Regions from separate parts of the Homo sapiens genome. Here region 1 is linked to region 2. The links are contacts of gene promoters, found by promoter capture Hi-C in blood cells and fetal thymus (Javierre and others, 2016). All regions are on one chromosome and are shown on one strand. Each heading gives the region's core, a stretch centred on a gene start or on the middle of the fragment in contact. The rest is flanking DNA. Distances are from core to core; before and after follow the strand shown. Region 1 holds the start of PLCD4 (phospholipase C delta 4). Region 2 holds the start of PRKAG3 (protein kinase AMP-activated non-catalytic subunit gamma 3).

Region 1 (6,323 bases), core at 3,810-6,309, 220 kb before region 2:
TGTTGCCCAGGCTGGAGTGCAATGGCGTGATCTTGGCTAACCGCAACCTCCACCTCCTGGGTTCAAGCGATTCTCCAGCCTCAGCCTCCTGAGTAGCTGGGATTACAGGCATGCGCCACCACTCCCAGCTAATTTTGTATTTTTGGTAGAGATGGAGGGGGAGGTTTTCCATGTTGGCCAGGCTGGTCTCAAACTCCTGACCTCGTGATCCACTTGGCCTCCCAAAGTACGGGGATTACAGGCGTGAGCCACCATGCCCGGCCTCAAGCAATTCTTGTGCCTCAGCCTCCCGAGTATCTGTGATTACAGGCATGTGCCACCACGTTCGGCTAATTTTTTTATTTTTTGTAGAGCTGGGGGTTTCACCGTGTTGGCCTGGCTGGTCTCAAACTCCTGGCCTTACATGATCCGCCCACCTCAGCCTCCCAAAGTGCTGGGATTACAGGCGTAAGTGAGCCATCACACACAGCCACTTTCCTTTGACTTTCAACTTTTATTTTATTTTTTGAGACAGAATCCTACTCTGTCACCCAGGCTTGAGGGCAGTAGCATGATCGTGGCTCACTGCAGCCTCTAACTCCTGGGCTCAAGTGATCCTTCCATCTCAGTCTCCCAAGTAGCTGGGACTAAAAGAGAGTGTTTACTTTTTTGTAGAGCCAAGGTCTTGCTATGTTGCCCAGGCTGGAACTTTTTTCTTTTTTTTTTCTTTTTCCTGAGACAGAGTTTCACTCTTGTTGCCTAGGCTGGAGTGCAATGGCGCGATCTCGGCTCACCGCAACCTCCGCCTCCCAAGTTCAAACGATTCTTCTGCCTCAGCCTCCTGAGTAGCTGTGATTAGAGGCATGTGCCACCACGCCCGGCTAATTTTTTATATTTATTAGTAGAGACAGGGTTTCTCCATGTTGGTTAGGCTGGTCTCGAACTCCTGACCTCAAGTGATCCACCCGCCTTGGCCTCCCAAAGTATTGGGATTATGGGCGTGAACCACCGCGCCTGGCCTTTTCTTTTTTTTTTTAGTAACACCTTTTTGTAGATGTGACTTTTTTTTTTTTTTAAGGCGAAGTCTTGCTCTGTCACCCAGGCTGGAGTGCAGTGGCAATGGCGTGAACTTGGCTCACTGCAACCTCTGCCTCCTGTGTTCAAGTGATTCTCCTGCCTCAGCCTCCAGAGTAGCTGGCCTTACAGGGATGCACCACGATGCCCGGCTGTTTTTTTAATTTTTAGTAGGATGGAGTTTCACAATGCTGGCCAGGCTAGTCTCGAACTCCTGGCCTCAAGTGATCTGCCTGCCTTGGCCTCCCAAAGTGTTGGGATTACAGGCATGAGCCAGCGTGCCCGGCCTGTAGACATGACTCTTACCAGTAGCACATACTTATATTTTGTTTTGTGACCTTTTCTGAAAGTTTTATTTCTTGGTGTAAAATACTATTTGTATTTTTTATTCTACTTTCCATCATCTTGTTCTCTGGGGTTTTTAATACCACCTTGTTGCCCACTCCCCACGCCCACTTAAAGAATTGAATAGCAGAACTGGGACTCTGCTTTTAAATTTTGTTAGAATGGAGGACTGACCATACACACACACACACACACACACACACACACACACACACACATATATATATATATATATACACACACACACATATGTATATTCTCTGGTCTTTTGAAGTTATATATCCTGGCTTTTAATTCTACAGGTGGTCTCATATTGATTTTTTTTTTTTTTTTTGAGACACAGTCTCGCTCTGTCACCCACCCAGGCTGGAGTGCAATGGCACCGTCTCAGCTCACTGCAACCTCCGCCTCCCAGGTTCAAACAATGATCCTGCCTCAGCCTCCTGAGTCGCTGGGATTACAGGCATGTACCACCATGCTTGGCTAATTTTTGTATTTTTAGTAGAGACCAGGTTTCACCATGTTGACCAGGCACCAGGCTGGTCTCGAACTCCTGACTTCAAGTGATCCACCTGCTTCGGCCTCCCGAAGTGCTGGGATTATAGGCATGAGCCACCGCGCCCAGTCCTTTTATTTTTTTATTTTTATTTTTATTTTTATTTTTTTTGAGACAGAGTCTCGCTCTGTCACCCAGGCTGGAGTGCAGTGTTGCGATCTCGGCTCACTGCAACCTTTGCCTCCTGGGTTCAAGCGATTCTCCTGCCTCAGCCTCCTCCTGAGTAGCTGGGATTACAGGCACGTGCCACCATGCCTGGCTAATTTTTATATTTTTAGTTGAGATCGGGTTTCACCATGTTGGTCAGGCTGGTCTCAAACTCCTGACCTCGTGATCTGCCCACCTCGGCCTCCTAAAGTTCTGGGATTACAGGCGTGAGCCACCGTGCCCGGCCCTGATTTTTTTTTTTTTAAGAGACAGAGTCTTGCTATGTTGCCCTGGCTGGTCTGAAACTTCTGTACTCAAGCAATCCTCCTACCTCGGCCTCCCAAAGTGCTGGAATTACAGGTGTGAGCCACTGTGCCTGGCCTTATGTTGATGATTTTTAAATGGAATTTACTGTTTTGAGTTGCATTTTTGATCAGGAAGGAGTTGGGCTTTATTTCAGAAGTTTGAGTAGTTTGGTTCGATAGTCTGGGGAACTGATCTCAGACTTTCCAGCCTGAGTGTCCTGACAAGCGGAGACATTTAATTGGGTGGCATCTGCTCTGGATGTCAGGAAGAAGGTCTAGGCAGGCCTGGGTGGCAGGGCGAGAGTACCATGTTTAGGTCTTCCTCTTTGCCAGCTGCTGCTTCATTTCAGTTTAGGGCTTCTAGGCTTTTCCTGGGCATGGTTCCCAGAAAGTCCCTCTGCTGCTACTGCCCTGATCAGGTTTCTGGATCTGTTAATAATAGACAACAGTGGGGGAAGGGGCAGCCAGGATCATGGTGGAAATAGGAATAACCATACCAGATGGACATTTACTGTGCCCAGGGGGCCCTGTCTGTCTGCTCCCTCCCTCTGTTTCATGAGAGTCCTGCAGTGGGCATGCCTTGGCACTCTGGAACCATACTAACCTTGTGAAAGTCTCCAAGTCCCTGCCCCAAAAATCAGAACATATGGGCTGAAGAATACTGTTGTATTCATGGGAACATTGAAACAGAATATTTGAGATCTAGACTCTCCCAGAAAATCCACTATGAGTGATAACACCCCTCACAGATTACCCAAGAGGGAAGGAGGTTGGGCAGCATTAAATTGATGCAAATAGTGACTCAGAAAGATGGTATATAATCTGGGGGTATAGAAGAGGAGTGTGGACTGTGAAGGTGAGGCTTGGAAAAATAAGCTGGCCATGTTGGGGAAGTAGAAATGGGAGAGCAAGACAAGCATGTAAAACAGGGCCTCTATTAAGTCAAATCTGAAATCAGCACAGTTTAAACTACGATGCCCCCCAATCTTCCTGTTCCCCATGAATGGCCTCCCTCCTAATGTGTCCCCTTCCTTCATACTACTACTCTTCTATCAAAACCTGCTCTCAGTAAAGAATATAGACAACCCAACCTAGGTATAAATTATTTAAAATCTACTTTGACCTTAGGATTGAATTTTTAAAAAATTATTTATAATCGGCTGGGTGCAGTGGCTTACGCCTGTAATCCTAGCACTTTGGGAGGCCAAGGCAGGTGGATTGCCTGAGCTCAGGAGCTCAAGACCAGCCTGGGCAACACGGTGAAACCCCGTCTCTACTAAAATACAAAAAAAAGTAGCTGGGGGTGGTGGCATGCACCTGTAATCCCAGCTACTCAGGAGGCTGAGACAGGAGAATTGCTTGAACCCGGGAGGTAGAGGTTGCAGTAAGCCAAGATCACGCCATTGCACTCCAGCCTGGGCAACAGCGAGACTCTTATCTCAAAAAAAAAAAAAAAAAAAAAAAAAAATATATATATATATATATATACACACACACACATATACATATACATATATGTATATTTAAAATCATTAAGCCTTCAAAAGTTAACACAGATATATGATATTTTAAATGAGACCTAAAAAAATAAATTTAAAAACACATATAGAAAATATATCAAGAGAATGTATAGCTTAATAAATTATTAAGTGAAGACCCTTGTTAGCACTTAGAACTAGAAATAGAGTTTAGCTAGCTATGCCAGAAGCCCCCTCTGTGTCCCATCTCACCACAATTCCTCCCCCTCCCAACAGTAACCACTATCCTGACTTTTATAGTAATCACTTAGGAGGATTTTATTTTAATGGGACTAAAAAATGTAGCTATAATCACTAATGGTAAAATATTAGGCAGTTGAGGGATGCTTGTGGAAACCATGATAGGCAGCCAGACGTCAGCACACTTAAAATTACACCATTTCACACAGTTCCCCTCTGAGCCTATGCTTCATCTCTGCACACATCTTTATAAACATGCATGTATGTCCTGAAGGTGCTACCTCCATTCTGAGGGCTATGACTTATAACCCAGAGGTGCTGAACAGATGCTTGTAGGAGGAACGAATGGATGTTTAAAAAAAAATGAGCTGTTTCACACGTTCATCTATGCATTCTTTCAATATTTAATGAGTGCCTAAAATATACATAGATTCTAACCTATCTGTCCCTCTACATTCTATCATCATTCCTGTCCTCCCCTTCTCCTCGTCTTCCTCTTTTCCCATCTTATTTCTTTCTTTTCCTGTGGGACGGAGCTACAGTGAGTGCCCTGCAGGCAGGATTCAGAGATACAGGAGCAGGCCAGTGGAAACAGACACTATGGAAAGGAGCCAGATTAAATAAGGGCAAAAACAGCCGTATTACATGCAGGAACCAGAATGAAAAGCAGTGATTCACAGAGCACTGCAACTGAGGACACTCCCTTCACTTTGAGAGCTACTGCGGGATTGGGGTCAATGAGGGCTGGCATCAAGATGAAGGGCAGCCAGGCTCCTCCCTGGAGATGTGCTGCCCTTAATCCTTCTCTCCCCACCCCACCCCCACTACTCCCTCACATTGACCAGTGTCCTGGGCCTTTAAGAGTTGGATGGGCTGGACTGGAGAGAGCTCACACCTCTCCCCTTCTTACTGCTTCCCTCCGGCTATAACTTGCCAGTCACAGCAGCCAGCTGCTGTAGAAGAGGGGAGGAAACAAGCCAGTGCAAGGGGAGCAAAAGAGAAAAGGAGCCAGGCTGGGCTTCCTGATCCCACAGCATCGCAGAGCTCGGGAGGCACAGCTCACAGACACAGGAAACACAGGACTGCTATTCTGCTCTCCTGCCCACGGTAAGGATCTGGAAGCTCTGACTACCCTCTGCTCTAAGCTCTGTCTTCCCTGAGTCCCTACCTCTGCCCTCTAGATGCTTATCCACCCTGATTAAATTGTACCCTAGACTCCTTTCCTCATCCCAACAGCTCTACAGGGCTCCCACCTCCTGGTTCTCTCTAGCTTATCCTCCTTTATCCTTACAGCTTTCCTCCTGGCTGTGTCAGTCGCCCTTTATATGAGGTACCTCTTAGCTTATGCAGGGCCAGAAGTGCCAACCCTAGCCACTCCTGAGGTGAACTCCACCCCCAATAAGGGAAGAAAAAATTGGAGTAGCTAAGCTTTAGCATAGATTCATTAACAGTTTGTTGAGGGTTGCAAAATAGGGGTTGGCCAAGAACCATGGGGAATCAGAGATCCCTGGTAATAGAGAGAGTTATGAAAGTCCCTTAGAAAGTTCTCTAAAGAACTTGTTCTTTGCCTATTCCATGGGCCAGAGCAGTTTCTTAGTGCACCAGAGTGCTACGTTGGTAAGAAAACCTACTTCTAGTTCTGCCTGTGCCATTAACTAGCTACGGGACCTGGAGCCACAACTTCCAGATCTGTGATACGAGAGAGTTTAGGGTTTCCCAGACTTGCCTGTGTACCAAGTGTACTTGTTAAAAATAAATATATTATTGAGCCCCACCCTGGGTAACTCTGATCTGGTAGATTTTTGGGTAGGGCTAAGGATCTCAATTTCAAGACATTCCAGAGGCTATTGATGTAGCTGGGAATGTCTGGATTAGATGTGTTATAAAAGAACTGGCCGGGCGCGGTGGCTCACACCTGTAATCCCAGCACTTTGGGAGGCCGAGGCGGGTGGATCACGAGGTCAGGAGATTGAGACCATCCTGGCTAACATGGTGAAACCCCGTCTCTACTGAAAATACAAAAAATTAGCCGGGCGAGGTGGGTGGCGGGTGCCTGTAGTCCCAGCTACTCGGGAGGCTGAGGCAGGAGAATAGCGTGAACCCCGGGGGGCGGAGCCTGCAGTGAGCCAAGATCGCACCACTGCACTCCAGCCTGGGCGACAGCGAGACTCTGTCTCAAAAAAAAAAAAAAAAAGAACC
Region 2 (5,866 bases), core at 2,077-4,576:
TCACCTCCTCCATCTCCCTTCACCTCCCCAGCCTCTCCTCACCCACAAAGCTCTGCTTCTTGCTGTCCCATAGAGGGGCTGCCCGCACACCGTTGGCCACCAGAGCAAAGAAGGCCTTCTTGATCTGAGGGGCCAGGGAGAACAGTCAAGGGTGGGTCCCGAGAGACCCTCACCCCCCTCTCTGCCCCTCAGTGCGCACCTCCCATCTGCCTGCTGTCCCCTCCCTGTCCCACCCAGGGTTCTTCCATGGGGCCTTCTCCTGGACCCTCCTCTACACCAGCTGGCCTGTCTTCCTCATGTCACAGTACACGCTAGACATGATCGTTGCTGGGGACATGTACATAGATAAGGCTGTGGCCTGAGACCATGAGCCCCTCACCTGGCACACCAGGGAGTGAGAAATTCTAAGTTCATGTTTCCATTTGGAGGGTATGTGTGTACAGACACAGTCTAGTTTTTGATAGACTAAGTACCGGAGGCATAGTTATTTACATAACACTTGCATATTTACATACTTTTTTTGTAGATAAATTTTATATTGACTCATTTTGTGCCCCGTCCTAAGCAGTACTATCTGCACATGCTGGTTATATTTTTTTAACACAGCCTAAAACAAATATAAAGCTACTGAAATAGACATATTTTTTCACGAACCATTAGAATCAAAATGCATGCTATGGACAATACATACACCGTGTTTTGGGAAACACTGCACTGCATAACAATGATAAGAATAAGATTATAGACATTTATAGCTAAGCCTAATGGAAGAGCAGGTGCCAGAGCTCATTATTTTTTCTGTTACCAAGAGAGTCCCCTACTCTTTTTTCTAAGTCACTCTGTGATGCCTTTTTTTTTTTTTGACATGGAATTTCGCACTGTCTCCCGGGCTGGAGTGCAGTGGCACGATCTCGGCTCACTGCAACCTCTGCCTCCTGGGTTCAAGTGATTCGCCTACCTCAGCCTCCAAAGTAGCTGGGATTACAGGCGCCCACCACCACGGCCGGCTAATTTTTTGTATTTTTTTTTTTAGTAGAGATGGGGTTTCACCATGTTGGTCAGGCCGGTCTCGAACTCCTGACCTTGTGATTTGCCCACCTCGACCTCCTAAAGTGCTGGGATTACAGACATGAGCCACCGTGCCCGGCCTCTGCAATGTCTTACACATACTTTGTTCACGCTTTATACTGGGTAGTCCAAGAATCCTCTGAACTATGTAGGGTGCAGCAGGCATTTCGATCCCCATTTTAGAGACAAGAAAGGTAATGTAACTCAAGGTCCTACAGCTACTAAGTGGCAGAGCTGTGATGACAATTACGTGTGCTAACAGAGAGTAGAAGCTGTCCCTCCCCCAACTGGCCTCCATAGTGCTAAGAAGGAGTCCTTTCAGGGGGCTTGCAGGGGCACCTGGCTCAGCAGGGCATCCTGCAGGGTGGGAGTGGCGGCTGCAGCACCGTGTGGATGGAGAGTGAGTACAGGTTGGGCAGAGCCGTGGCCTCACCTCCAGCATGGTGTCGAAGATGACTAGCTTGGAGCTAGTTGCCATGGCATCGTAGCAGGTGTGCTCCTGCATGAAGCGCATGTAGATCTGGGCGCCGGGTTTCCGCAGTTCGTCATCCCAGCCCAGCTTGGGAAATGGGGCCTGCGGGGACAGGCACAGGGCAGGCCTCTCTTCCAGCAGGCCTTCTAGCTCACACTCCCAGGCCTCTGTGGCTGGGAACTCCGTGGCCAGCTCCACATCATCTGTGCTGGAGCCTGCAGCTGAGGCTGTACAGTCAGAGGGGAGGCAGTCCCACCCTGTTGGTGGAGTGCCCACCCCGGCAGGATCAGCTTGAGCCAAGGGTGTGGTCTTGGGGAATGTGGCCTCCAGCCCGGTGGACTCAGCAGCTGGCCTGGACCGGGGACCTGTTTGGGGGAGGAGGGGAAGAGGACAGTAACTCCATCTTCCAAAGCACGTTCTCATCTGCTGTCGCCATTCATCTCACAGCAGCAGTGGGAAGCCTGGATGCTGTGGCCCTATTTGCAGGTGAGGGGCTGACCTGAGAGTCGCCCCAGGTAGTGGCTCTGTCCCATCTTTCTGAGTTGGCCATGCTGGCCTCTGGCACTGCAGTGCCTTGTTCTCTACTATGTAGGGAGACTGAGGCCACAAGATGAAGGTTGGGTCCAACTCTGTGTTATGGAGGGACCTGAGGTAGAGACCAGACCCAGGCTCCTCTGGGATTTCCCACTCCCCTGGCTCCCACCTCCCCAGAACTGGCCTTGGCCTCACCTTCCCCCTGACCTGGTGGCTCCCCTTCCTCCACCGACTTCTGCCTTGTCCATCTCAAGGCTTTGGCCCTCCGTTTCCCACGGATTCTTTCTGAGCTGCTGGTCACAGCTGGTGATGGCCATGAGCTGCTGTTTTCTTGCTCTAGGAAGCTCATCTCTGGAAGGGGAATGGGGCCTGTTTGGTTAATAGGGAGTAATGCATCAAAATCAATTCAAATGTTATTCATAATCTTTAGGATTTGCAAGCTTCCAATGGGCTTTTCTCCAACATATTTCTCATTTAAAACTTACAGCAGCCTTATAAAGCAGGCATTATTATCATCCCTATTTTGCTAGTGAGGGACCAGAAATTCAGAGAGGTTAAGCAATTTGCTGCAAATCACACAGCAAGTAAGTGGGAAAGTCACTTCTGAAAAGAGGAAATTGGAGGTGAGGGAAACACACCTGGGGAAAGGAGGAAGAACAATGAGGAAGAAAGACCAAAAGGAGGAAGATAAAAGCCAGGCTGGGAGGGAATTGGGGTCCCAGAAAAGTGGGGGACAAGGAGGTGGGGGAAGAGGTTAGGCCCCAGGGAGGGGGCATTCTCCCTACCTTGATGCTCAGAACCCCCAAGGCTGCTCCAGGAAGGGGTCTGTGGGGAGAAGAGTTTCTGAAGGAGTGGGGAAAGTGCCTTACATTCCCAAACCCCTTCTCCCTGAACACACGCCTACACACCCATGCACACCAATACACACGCTCAGACACACGCCATACACAGACATGCAGCCATACACAAACACACACAGAAACACACACATCCAAACACTCCCAGGCACACAGAACCACACACACTCACAATACATATGCCCAAACATGCACATGCCCATATTCACGAGAAAATCCAGACCAAACACACACCAGAAGACACACACGCCCACACACACATTCACAGCCCGTGCGCTCAATCTTCTGGCCTCAGCTGCCCCGGCTCCGGCTCCCCTGGGACCCCCATACCCTGCGCAGTGCGTGCTCCAGCCCGGGCTCCATGTGGCCAGCCCCAGACCAACTGAGAGCAAGTGTGCGACACTGTGGCTGGGCTGCACTATTCTGGGCCCGGCCCCGGGCACCCTGCCCTGCCAGGATCGGTTTCTCTCTGATTGGGTGTCAGGCAATGAGAGGGAGGGGCCCCCATTTGCTCAGCTGCTACAGCCCTGAAGGCTGGGGGTTGCTGGGAGGGAAGGGGCGCACCGGATAATCTGGGTACTTGGTCCTCAGCTGCCTCCTGGGTCACTGAGGACAAGCTAGAGGGACCCTTTTTGAGGGGATGTGGCTTGGAGCATGTGGGAACATGGTCATTGAGCAGAGTTGGGCTCTCAGAGTCCTGAGCCCCTATTCCAAGAGCCTCCCTCATCTTTATCAGGCACCAAAGAAGGGAACATGGAGGCAGATCAGCATAACTTTCTTCCTTGTTCTAATTTCAGTAGAGGGTGGTGCTGGAGTTAGAAAGGGCAAGTTGCAGCCAGCTCAGAGGCTGGAGATGAGGCAAGGGGTTTGTGGGTAGTCCAGGAGAGCAGCTAGTGTATGTCCAGATGTCCAGATTTGAGTCCCTGGAGTGTGTCCCTCTCTCAGGTGAAGGAGATGGAGTGGGTGTTTCAGGCAGGTGAAGAGCTGTGAGAATCACCTCGAAGGCGTGGGGAGCACTCAGAGCTCCCCGCAGGGGAAGAGACATCTGTTTCCACCTGTGGTTGGGAGATATGCCTGGGTGTGCAGGTGTCCCAGCCCCCAACCCTCTGTGAGTGCTGTGCCTACATCCCTGGTGCCAACAGGATCCCAGCCTGGCTCCAGTAGCTGCCACCCTCTTCCTTGGCATTCCCGGAGCCTGAGTCAATGTCCGGATTGGGAATGCTGACCCAGCTGCTCCGGCTTTCCTCTCTCTGCCCCTCCCTTTCTCTCCTCCTTCCAGCCTCTTCCATCCCAGCCCTGGCCCTGGAGTGGACACTCAACAACAGACTGGTGAATTTCTGTCTGAGTTTATTACATGTGTTTTCCATCAACCCTCAATGTTCCTACTCTGCCAATGGGGAGGGTGGAGGAGAATGGAGTTGGGAGGACAGCCTTGGCCAGGGCTGTTCCTGTGGTCCCCAGCCTTTCTCAAGGACATCTGCTCACTGGACAGTGGGAACTGGCTCAGAGGACAGAGATCAGTGTAAGAGAATTTCCTTCACACCAAGCATGTTTTTTCAAATGGACTCAAGATAGCCACCACCAGTTTGAGAGAAAGGAGAGTAGGAAGAACACCAAGTCCAGAGTGTTCAAGCATAAAAATAAGGTCTACATGAGGCCATTGGCTGTGGTTACTCAAACATGGAGCCACTCAGAAGGCTTCTAAGATTGTGAGGGTGTTGTATTGGCAAAGAAACCATAAGCCTGATCAGCAAAGCCTGGTTTGACACCCCTTCCCTTGCCTTATTCCCAGCCCTCCAAATCCGCACCAGCAGGAAGAGGGCTGTGAAGGCTGGAAGGACTGCAGAAAGCACAAGTTTGCCAGTGTGGGACAAAGGATATTGGATAAACAACAGCTTCCCAGCAGGAAAAGCCAGAGGCTACATAGGAGAGTGGAAAGGGGAGATCTTCCCAGAGAGCAGAACCAGGGGTGGTCAAATGTGCTGACCAAGAACTTACTCCACTGCCAGGAAAGGGCTTAGCCATTCCTGCCCAACCAGATTTGATAATTAAGATCCAGCAGCTGCTGGGTGTTTGCCATTCTTTCAGTTGCAAGTGGATTTTTTTTTTTGAGACAGTGTCTCACTATGTTGTCCACGCTAGTCTCAAACTCCTGGGCTCAATGATCCTCCTATCTCAGTAGCTGGGACTATAGGCGCGTAGCAGTGTGCTCAGCATGAGTCAGTGTTTTAATTGAGCTTACCCTCTTCTTCCTCCACTGTTGTCTGTGGGGAGTAGGAGGTGCAAATCACCTGCCTGTTAGTTTTTAGGTCACCAGACCATAGGGTGTCCATCTACCTGGAAGAAGGAACTGCCCACCCCTCAGATAGCCTGGACTCTCAGCTGGGTGCCGTACTCAGATGGAACTCTGACTTGCCTCCTTTTGAAGGGCAGTAACTGTGTTTTTTGTGTGGGATGGCCAGATGGGTGAGCTCTAGTAGAGCAATATCTCTTCTACCCTTCTTCTGCTGTTAGTAAACCACTACAATTTTAACTGAATGCAAGATTATATTTCACAGCTTCTTTTGCAGATAGTATGGCCATATGACTAAGTTTGACCATGAAATTTGAGCAGCAATGTTATATACATATATATTATATGATAGAAGGGTACCCCTAGGAGGAAAGGGAACCCTTTCTTACTGGCTAGAATTACAATACGATGATGGGAGCCGGAGCAGCAAACTGAACCCAACGATGGAAAATGCAGTTTGAAAATGATAGAACATCCCCCACCCCTGTCCTGGTCTGCCTACCTCTGGATTGTTATGTTAGAGATAAATAAATTTCTGTCTTGTTTAAACGATCGACAAATTGAACCTTTGTTATAGCAGCCAAGCCTCTCTCTAACTAATACATCTACGTTGCAGGATTGAGGTAGGATTAGGAATTACAT

What was found. The method cuts DNA at HindIII sites, captures the fragments that hold promoters and counts their contacts. A CHiCAGO score of 5 or more calls a contact.
Region 1: the fragment with the promoter of PLCD4 here is called in contact with the fragment with the promoter of PRKAG3 in region 2 in 2 of 17 cell types (erythroblasts and activated CD4 T cells); the score reaches 6.5 in erythroblasts.

What each region holds. Positions count from the first base shown.
Region 1 is chr2:218,602,840-218,609,162 of GRCh38, forward strand. It overlaps PLCD4 (phospholipase C delta 4), which reads left to right and starts at 5,060. Exons shown (of 16, transcript NM_032726.4): 1 at 5,060-5,231. The HindIII fragment of the contact is 12,670 bases long and covers 1-5,550 here.
Region 2 is chr2:218,828,477-218,834,342 of GRCh38, forward strand. PRKAG3 (protein kinase AMP-activated non-catalytic subunit gamma 3) reads right to left here and starts at 3,327. Exons shown (of 14, transcript NM_017431.4): 1 at 3,262-3,327; 2 at 2,860-2,899; 3 at 2,270-2,425; 4 at 1,502-1,905; 5 at 43-124. The coding sequence starts at 3,294. The HindIII fragment of the contact is 3,600 bases long and covers 2,513-5,866 here.